Linked DNA regions of Homo sapiens: region 2 is linked to region 1. The links are contacts of gene promoters, found by promoter capture Hi-C in blood cells and fetal thymus (Javierre and others, 2016). All regions are on one chromosome and are shown on one strand. The core of a region is centred on a gene start or on the middle of the fragment in contact, and the rest is flanking DNA. Distances in the headings are between cores, read along the strand shown. Region 1 holds the start of BEGAIN (brain enriched guanylate kinase associated). Region 2 overlaps WDR25 (WD repeat domain 25).

The links. Contacts are between HindIII fragments. The CHiCAGO score rates a contact against its expected background, and 5 or more counts as called.
Region 2: a fragment that was not itself captured here is called in contact with the fragment with the promoter of BEGAIN in region 1 in 4 of 17 cell types (megakaryocytes, M0 macrophages, total CD8 T cells and 1 more); the score reaches 6.4 in megakaryocytes.

What each region holds. Positions count from the first base shown.
Region 1 is chr14:100,584,759-100,589,035 of GRCh38, reverse strand. BEGAIN (brain enriched guanylate kinase associated) reads left to right here and starts at 1,619. Exons shown (of 7, transcript NM_001385089.1): 1 at 1,619-1,787. The coding sequence starts at 1,746. The HindIII fragment of the contact is 6,858 bases long and covers 1-4,277 here.
Region 2 is chr14:100,384,288-100,388,587 of GRCh38, reverse strand. The region is part of intron 2 of WDR25 (WD repeat domain 25); the gene reads right to left. Among named protein-coding and RNA genes, the nearest start is that of WDR25, 10 kb to the right of the region's middle. The HindIII fragment of the contact is 1,585 bases long and covers 874-2,458 here.

The DNA of each region.
Region 1 (4,277 bases), core at 370-2,869:
GTGTCTGAACCTGAGAGGCCAGAGTGGAGGTCAGGGAGCCTGTCCCTACTCCTGCTGGGGAGACTAAGGCCCCCTTGAGCAAAGAGGCTGGTCCCGTGGTGCACACCAGCGACGGTTTGGGCGAAGTCTGTCCACGCTTCGCCCAAACTGGGAGAGCCCCGCCCTGAGCTGCCGCCTCTCATTTTGTCTTGACTGTGGTGGGGTGCACTTGGAGGCGCCTCCCTCTGTCCATTGGTTACCCAATCATGTCCCTGGGACCTGAGAGGGAGCAGAGACAGGACTTTGCTTGACACGAAGTGGCTCCAGTCAGCTGCTGGTTCTTTTGCTTGTCTCCTTTTTTTCTGGGTTTCCCCTCTTGCCTTGCTATCAGTGCCTTTTCTCAGCACTGACACTGCCTGAATGTAGCAACCTACTCCCCAGATTAAATGAGAGAGCGTAGAAACTGCAAAGCATACAACATACAGCATATAAGGATGGTGGTGATGGCAGCTCAACAGTGGGAACTCAGTGTCCCCAAACTGTACACTTTAAAAGTGGTTAAAATGGTAAATTTTATGTTTTCCATGTTTTCCACAATTAAAAAACAAAAATATACAAGGTACTCATTCGCAGCATCTTCTAATCTGCCATGTACTTGGAAATGATATAAGCATGTGTGAACCATGAGCCCATAGGTCCCGAGGGAGGATATGAGCGAAGCACACGGGCTTTGCCAGCTCTGTTTCCACCACGCAGGACCCTCCCTGGCTGCCAGTGCTCCTCCCCGGGTTCCCACGCTGGCTGCTGCTGGGCTGGCTGGGATGGAAGACCCTCATGTAGCTGGCACCCTCAGGGCTGCCCCTTGCCCGCTCTGGGAGGAGAGAGGAGGGTTCACGCTGCACCTTTACCAGGGTAGGACTGGCCAGCCTGGGCTCTACCGGGCAGGTCGGTGGGATGCTTCAGACTGGAGGGATAGGCAGGGGGCAACACTGGTCCTCCTGAAGCCACCTTCCCTTCCTGAGAGCTCCTTGGGGAGAAGGCAAGCCCTGGAAGCCACCGACTGGGGGCTCGGGCAGAGCAAGGGCAGGGTAAGGGGCAGCTTGGCCAGGAGGCACCCTTGGGAGCCAGGGTTTCCTCATCTGTAAAATGTGACTCTGCGAGGGCAGGAGCTTGGTTTCACTCGCTACTGTACCCCCTGGGGCCTACAGCAGGGCTGGTTGGTACACACTAGGTGTCTAATAAATGTTGAGGGATTGAATGGATGGACCGATGAAAAGGTTGGGCAGGTCATTACTGACAGCCTCTGGGTTTCAAGGGCCCATTCACTCTGTCACTCACCTTCGCGCCCGTGCATTAGTTCTCTCATTTATTCATTCCCCCCGCCCCCCCAGCCCCGCATGCTCTACCGCACTCATTCATTCACGCGCTCAGCCATTCAAGCTGGCGCGGGTTCATTCATTCCCTGCCCCTCTGCCATTCCTCGCCTGGCCCCCGCGCACGCCGCACCCCCGCGCCCCTGCCCGGCCCTGCGCCCACCACTTGCGCCCCGGCCGGGCGCTGCCGGGAGGACGCGCGGGCTCAGCCGCGGCTGCGCGGGGCCGGGGCTGGCGGGGAGCCGGGCTGGGGGCGGGGGGCGGGCGCTCCCTGCGGGAAGCCGGGCGGGGTGGGGGAGCCCCGGCCGCGCCGGCTCCCGGCGCGCTCGGCCTCGGAGGGGAGGGGGCGGCGGTAGCGGCGGCGGCGGTGAGCGGCGCGGCTGCCCTGGGGCCATGTGGACTGGCGGTCGCCGGCCGGGCCGGCTGCGCCGGGCGGTGAGTACCTGCGAGCCGGGAGGGCAGGGCGCGGGCGCGGGCGCGGAGGCGGGGCGGGCGCCACCCACGCCTGGGGCGGTCCCTGCTCAGCGCGGGAGGTGGCCGGCCCCCCGCCCCGCTCCCCTCCGCGCTGCGCCCCCGCCGTGGAGGCTTCACTGGCCCGGGAGGAGCCGGGCCGGGTCTCCTGGGAACTGGGCACTCTCGGGTGGGGCGGGGATGCCCAGCCTCCGCGCGCCGCCGGGAGCGCCCGGGTCCTATCGCGGGGTCCTTGCGCCCTGACACGCGCGCCCCTGCGGCGGAAGGAAAGGAGGGACGGGTGACCAAGGGCGCGGCCGGAGGACTGGGGACCCGCCGCTGTCCCGGGCGGGTGGCGAGGGTGCGGGCAGGCCTGGACCCGCCTGCGTCTGGGGGCAGGGCCAGCCCCTGCTTGGGAGGCCGGAGAAAGGCCCGGGAGCCGGAAGGAGGCTGGACCCGGGGCCGCCTCATTGAGCGTTTGCAGCGCGTGGGCGCGCACGAACCTCGGACACCACCATCCCATTCAGTACCTCGCGGCAGGTACTATCCTCCTGCCCCTTTACAGGCGAGGAAACTGAGGCTCAGGGAGGCCAGGGCCTCGCCCAGAGCGGCTCAGCCGGCGCGCTCACCCTCCCTGAGCCCCAGCACGTTGGATGGGAATTTCTGCCCCAGCGTTTCCGCTTCCTGCTTGGTTTAGAGGTGTTTCCTTCCTCGTCTGTGCCCCACCCCATCCCCAATGTGGTTTCCTCAGGGCAGGAACAGCGTGGGCGACGCGCTGGAGTCTCCTGAGCCGGCAGAATGGGAGCAGAGTGGGCACCCGGGAGCGGGGCCGGATGGATAGGGAGCACTGCACGTGCAAAGTCCGCATGGCCAAGGTCGGCCGCCAGTGCAGACTGGGGGTCCAGGCCCTGGGGGTATGGGTGGGGCGGGGTCTCCACAGCCAGGCTCCGTCGGAGGCCCCAGTGCTCTGGCTCTCTGGAGGCCATGGACAGGTTCTTTTCCTTCTCTGGACCCTAGTTCCTCTGCCTGCCAAGAGCAGCAGAGACCCCCACTACTCCCAGGGCCAGGCTCCCACGAGGACTGTGGGCAGAAGCCCCTAACAAACTGCGGTGTGCAGCCCTGCCAGGCTGGCCTTGGTCTTGCCAGCAGGGGCAACTGGCCGTTGGGGGTGGCTCTGCCTGGCATCTGTGACACGCAGGGCGGGGAGACGGCAGAGAGGGCCCCAGCAGCATCCTGCAAACCCTTAATTTTCCCGACTCTCACTATAATCAGGGCAGCTTGGAAAAGCAAGCACTGTGGCAGATGCGGCTCTGCCCGGGCTCAGCACACGGGCTCTGGGCGATGGGCGGCTGCGCTGCCGCCAAGGGCCCTCCCCAGCTTTTGTCTCATATTTATAGATTCCAAGGCTCCGCGTTCCGTTTGTCGTCAAAACCTGGAGCTGTTCGCACCTGGGAGCTGAGTGGGGAGGGGAGGGCTGCCTAGAACCTCAGCCTGGAGGATGAGTTTTCCATGCGCTGGGGTGGAGTAGGGGGACACCTGTCAGAGCCCAGGCCTGGAGAGAGGAAATGAGCCCTAAGCAATCTGGAAGATCTTCCATCCACTCTCCCAAGACTTGGGCGCAGGGTCTGGCCCACATAGCTGCCATTTATGGAACGCCTGCTATGTACTGGGCCCTGGATCAGCATTTCCACGCATCATCTCCACGGCAACACTTTGAAGGAGCTTCCCTACTCCTGCAGGCACTCCTGATGCTGAAGAGTGGATGGATGGATGAATGGATGGATGGATGGATGGATGGATGGATGGATGGATGGATGGGAGGGAGGGAGGGATGGATGGGAGGGATGGATGGATGGGAGGGAGGGAGGGAGGGATGGATGGATGGGAGGGAGGGAGGGAGGGATGGATGGGAGGGAGGGAAGGAGGGATGGATGGGAGGGATGGGAGGGATGGATGGATGGGATGGATGGATGGATGGATGGGAGGGAGGGAGGGAGGGAGGGATGGATGGATGGATGGATGGATGGATGGATGGATGGGAGGGATTGACTGAAGCCCATGAGTCCATGGCTATTGGACACAGTCCACAAATCATTACCCAGGGTCCCAGGAGGTGGGGTCCAAGGGCTGAGTAGTTGCTGAACAGATGAAGGGGTCAAGGTGTGTTACAGGAGCCTGGCCCAAGGCCTGAAGGTGATGGGGAGAGTGTAGAGTGTTCAAGTCTCAAGACTTAGAGAGGCTGTGTCCTGCTGGAGTGTGGAAGCCATGGCGGTGGGGAGGTGTGGCTCCTCCCCCTAAGGGAGGTAAGGATCCCTGGGACAGATGGGTGGGTGACCCTAGGACTCGCCGTGTTGGTCTAGAATCACCCCGCATGGTTCTCTTCTGACTCCCCTTCCTGCCGCAGAGCTGGTCGCTAGCCTTAGTGGAGAGGCCTGGACGGAGGTCTGCAGCCCTGGGTTCTGGTTCCTCCTCTGC
Region 2 (4,300 bases), core at 417-2,916, 200 kb after region 1:
GAGAAGATTCCAGCTCAGAATCTCATGGCTCTTCCCAGAGGCTCGGCAGCTCTGCTGCCAACCAGTCTAAAGCCCCACACTCCCAATCCTGGGGTAATTCAGATGATTCTGAAAGTCCTCTGGAAGGTGGGAAAGAAGAGAAGCAAATATAGTGTCCAGACTAGGAAGCATCCAAACACCTATTGTGTGTCCTCGGGCGTGTCTTCCCCTCTATGGGCCTCTATCAAATGAACCAGATGAACGCTATGCATGCACGCACATGCGCACACACACATCACCAATTCTCTCCTCACCTTCATCTAATTACCCTGGATGCACTGTTAATCATTCACTCCCCAAATACCAAAGGCCCACTACCACCACCCAAACCTCCTTCCCAGCTGCGCCTCTCATTGCCAATAGATTTGCCTCGTGCTTAGAATAAATTGCCAATCATCTGCATAATGCTCCACAACTCCTCACTCCACACATCAAATCATTTCTCAATCTCATTTTGTAAAATCCATCAAGAATAATTCTTTCAAAACTGAAATAAACCCTCACTCTGGCACTTAGAGCCATAAATCCCTTGTCTTTGAATGTGAAATAGATCACTTTCTACAAAGCACATCTAAGATATCTTAATGTAATCAGATTCACTAACAATGATAAATCAACAGGATCCTGTGATACATAAAAATGCAAATCCAAACCACCCCAGAAATCATCTCTTCTCTGTATGTCCCTTAACAGAACCACAAAATTTGGAAGCTGGGATAGAGCTTGGACACCACCTGGGTGAAGGGGATGCGCTTTTCCATCCCTTATTCTCAGAGGCAGGAGGGCAGCGTGAGTGGTGGTAGCTCTTTCTGCTCAGGCTCTGAGTCTGAAGCTTCCCTGCTTGCCTCTATCATTTACTAGCTGTGTGACCACGGACAAGTCTCTTGACCTCTCTGTGCCTCAATTTCCTCATCTGTAAAATGGGAATGAGGACAGAAGTGGCCTCTCAGGCCTGTAATGAAGAGGAGACGGAGCGTTTAGAACATGCCTAGTACATGGTAAGCACTCAGCAATGGCTAGCGCTCTCCATCCTCTCATCCATGCTTTAAATGTGACCACTTTGGGGACAGGGAACCAGCTCTCCAACACAGACCTGCCAAGTGTTCAGTACATGAAAAGGGAGTGCATGAATGGCTTGGCACAGACAATCCTCAAACTCTTTAGATTCTAAAAGTATTTATCTCAAGAACACTGAGATTGAAACGCTTTAAAAACGTGTGCATAGAGACAATGAAAAGATTCACAAAAAACAAGAGTTACAGTAAGTTGGAGGATTCTGGGTGATTTGTCTTTTCTACACTTTGTTTTATAACTAATCAAGACAGGTACAGGGGAATCAGAAACATGCTTCCTCAGCCTCTCCCTTGTCAGGCACTAGGCTGGATCTTCTCATTTCAGCTCTACAGCAACAACCTTAATTGGTGGCCATTTACCAATTATCCCCATTTTACCAGTGAGGAACTAGGGGATCAGAGAGGCTAAGTGATTTTCCCAAAGTCACACAGCTACCAAGCAGAAGATTTGGCATGGGAGCCAAGGAGTACAACAGTGGTACTGAAGGTTTGCCAATCTAATCAGGTCCCACTCTCACCACACACAAGGGCTTTAGCTAATGCCTGGGTGTAAATCAAAGCCCATCTTTTTCTTTTTTTTTCTGAGATGGAGTCTCGCTCTTTCACCCAGGCTGGAGTGCAGTGGTGCGATCTGGGCTCACTGCAAGCTCCGCCTCCTGGGTTCATGCCATTCTCCTGCCTCAGCCTCCCGAGCAGCTGGGACTACAGCCGCCCACCACCGCGCCCGGCTAATTTTTTGTATTTTTAGTAGAGACGGGGTTTCACCATGTTAGCCAAGATGGTCTCAATCTCCTGACCTCGTGATCCGCCTGCCTCGGCCTCCCAAAGTGCTGGGATTACAGGCATGAGCCACCGCGCCTGGCCTCAAAGCCCATCTTAACTGCATTAAGGCAGCAAAAAAAGACAATATTTATGTATAGCCATATTCACTGTAATACTGATTATTTTTTAAACAAAAGCAGGAAATTATAGGAAACAACATGGAAATGATGGAGCAAAGTATGAAACTTGAGACAGTTATAAAAATATATTTGGGGAAAAGTTTTTAATAAGGTAGAAAAATTCCCCTTACACGTTACAGAAGATTGGGCAGCAGAGGAAGAATTCAAAACTGCACATACTATGCAATAAGCCCAATTATGTAAACAGATAGGAATGTAGGGCCCCCGACCAGGGAGGCCCCTCATGTTAATGAGGCACTGACTTGGGGTTGGGAGTTATCAATGATTTCTGTTTCTCCTTCATACTTCATATTTCCTGCATCATTAAAGTTTTTCACAATAAGCATCTATTACATTCATGGTCAAAAATTAAAAGGTTTTTTTTCAAAGTATTTTAAGGAAGCTTGTTACTGAAAGAATTTCTAGAGCAAATTATTCTGTAAAGCAAATAAACAACATCTAATTCATATATTTTCTTTAAAAACCTTCTGTGTTTCAGAACTGCAGGTTTTCATACAGGTACAGAAGGTCCCTGGTGGGTCTTCTGTCACCCACCCAAAGGTCTTATTCCTTTGGGACTCCCTCTCAGTGCCTGGCAGAGGGTTCTGTACATGGGAGCATTCAATAACGGCTGGTTGTGTTTTTGGTTAACGCAGGCCACGTACATGTTTTCCTTCAAAAAAAGGCATCAAAGTCTGAATTTCTACCTTTACGTGCAGTGGGTGTTCAAACACGTTAAGCCAAAAGAGTTCACTGGGAGATGAAAAGAGTATATAAAAGGGTATCCGTGCTGGGATCACAGCTATGAAAAAAACAAGCACGTTCACAGACAAGGGGAGGAAGGGATCGTCAGGAAAGAGCAGCGGTGCAGAATTATGAGTCATTGTTTTATTTTACTTAATTTCTCTAGCTGTAAATTTTTCAAAACTAATAAAAGCATATTTTACAGCTCACAGAACATTTAGAACATATTAAAATAAGTATCTTTCCACTGTAATGTGTCCAGTTGAAATGTATGAATTCCGAAGCTACGTTTTAAGGATATGAAGGAACTGGCACTCCATGTTCTTTAGATTAATAAGTTGGACTGTGTTGTTTTTCTCCTGATCAGAAAGAAATCATTTTTCAGTAAATGTTACCTTGAATCAAGGATTCTTCCACATTCTAGAAGCTTGGATGAGCTGCTTATATTAAGTCTTACTGTGCACCCTAGTGGCGAATATGATTTATCCACTCAAAAGACAATCCCTTCCCAAAGGCTTGCGATAAAATCCAAAAAATTTGTTTTAATTTTTATCGATCACTTAACATGTACACAATTTTGTGCCAGATGCTGGGGAATATAAAAATGGGTTCTGGCTCAGGAAGCTTAAAGTCTAGTAGGTGAAGCTGATATGCTTCCATGGCTACTTACGTAAAATAAGACATGAGCACAAGTCAAGGAAAGGAGGAAATTCTTGGGGAAAAGCAGGAACTCGAGCACACACTAAGTGCCTGCTATGTGCCAGGCATTGCACTTGGTGATTCACAACTAATATCGTTTACTTTTCACAAAAACCCAGCGAGGCATGTTTAATTCTCTCCACTTTATAGATACTCAAATGAAGGCTCAGAAGTGAGGTAACTTGCCAGAGACCACGCAACCAAGGGGCTGGCCGTAGAGGAAGGACCCAAGCAGGTCTTGTCACCCAGCCCCCAAGCTCTTCCCTCCTTCCTGATCCAGCAGGGGCCCAGAAGACACTGGCAGATTTTAACCAAAAGGCAGGGGGAAAGCACCCTGGGAAGGGTGTACTGCTGCACCCGCCTCTTTGAGCTCATTCCATGCTGCACCCACCATTTCCTCTCCTCCAGGGACTGGGCTGCAGCCAGCCAGGACTCCTGCCTGTGCCCGAGGCCCTATCCCCACTCCAGACCCACCACCCACACCCACACACTGCCTTCCCCAGATCACCAGGTCCCCAAGATCTGCCATGCTGCCCCACCTCTGACACCAAGGAGGGAAAAGAACACCATGTGCCTCCCAGCCAGGCCACGCACAAACCTGGTGGCCCAGCAAGCCTGAGGCCTCAGCCGGGACTTCTGGCCACAGCTCCTGCCTGGCTCCCCGCCGGTTCCCAATCTGTCTTCCCATCCTGGCTCCTCCAGCCCCTGCCATACACTCTTCACACTGAAAAGTTGTTCAAAGTCAATTTGCCCAAAACCAATTTGCCAAATAACCCCATCACTGAAAACTGACAAATATCTTAA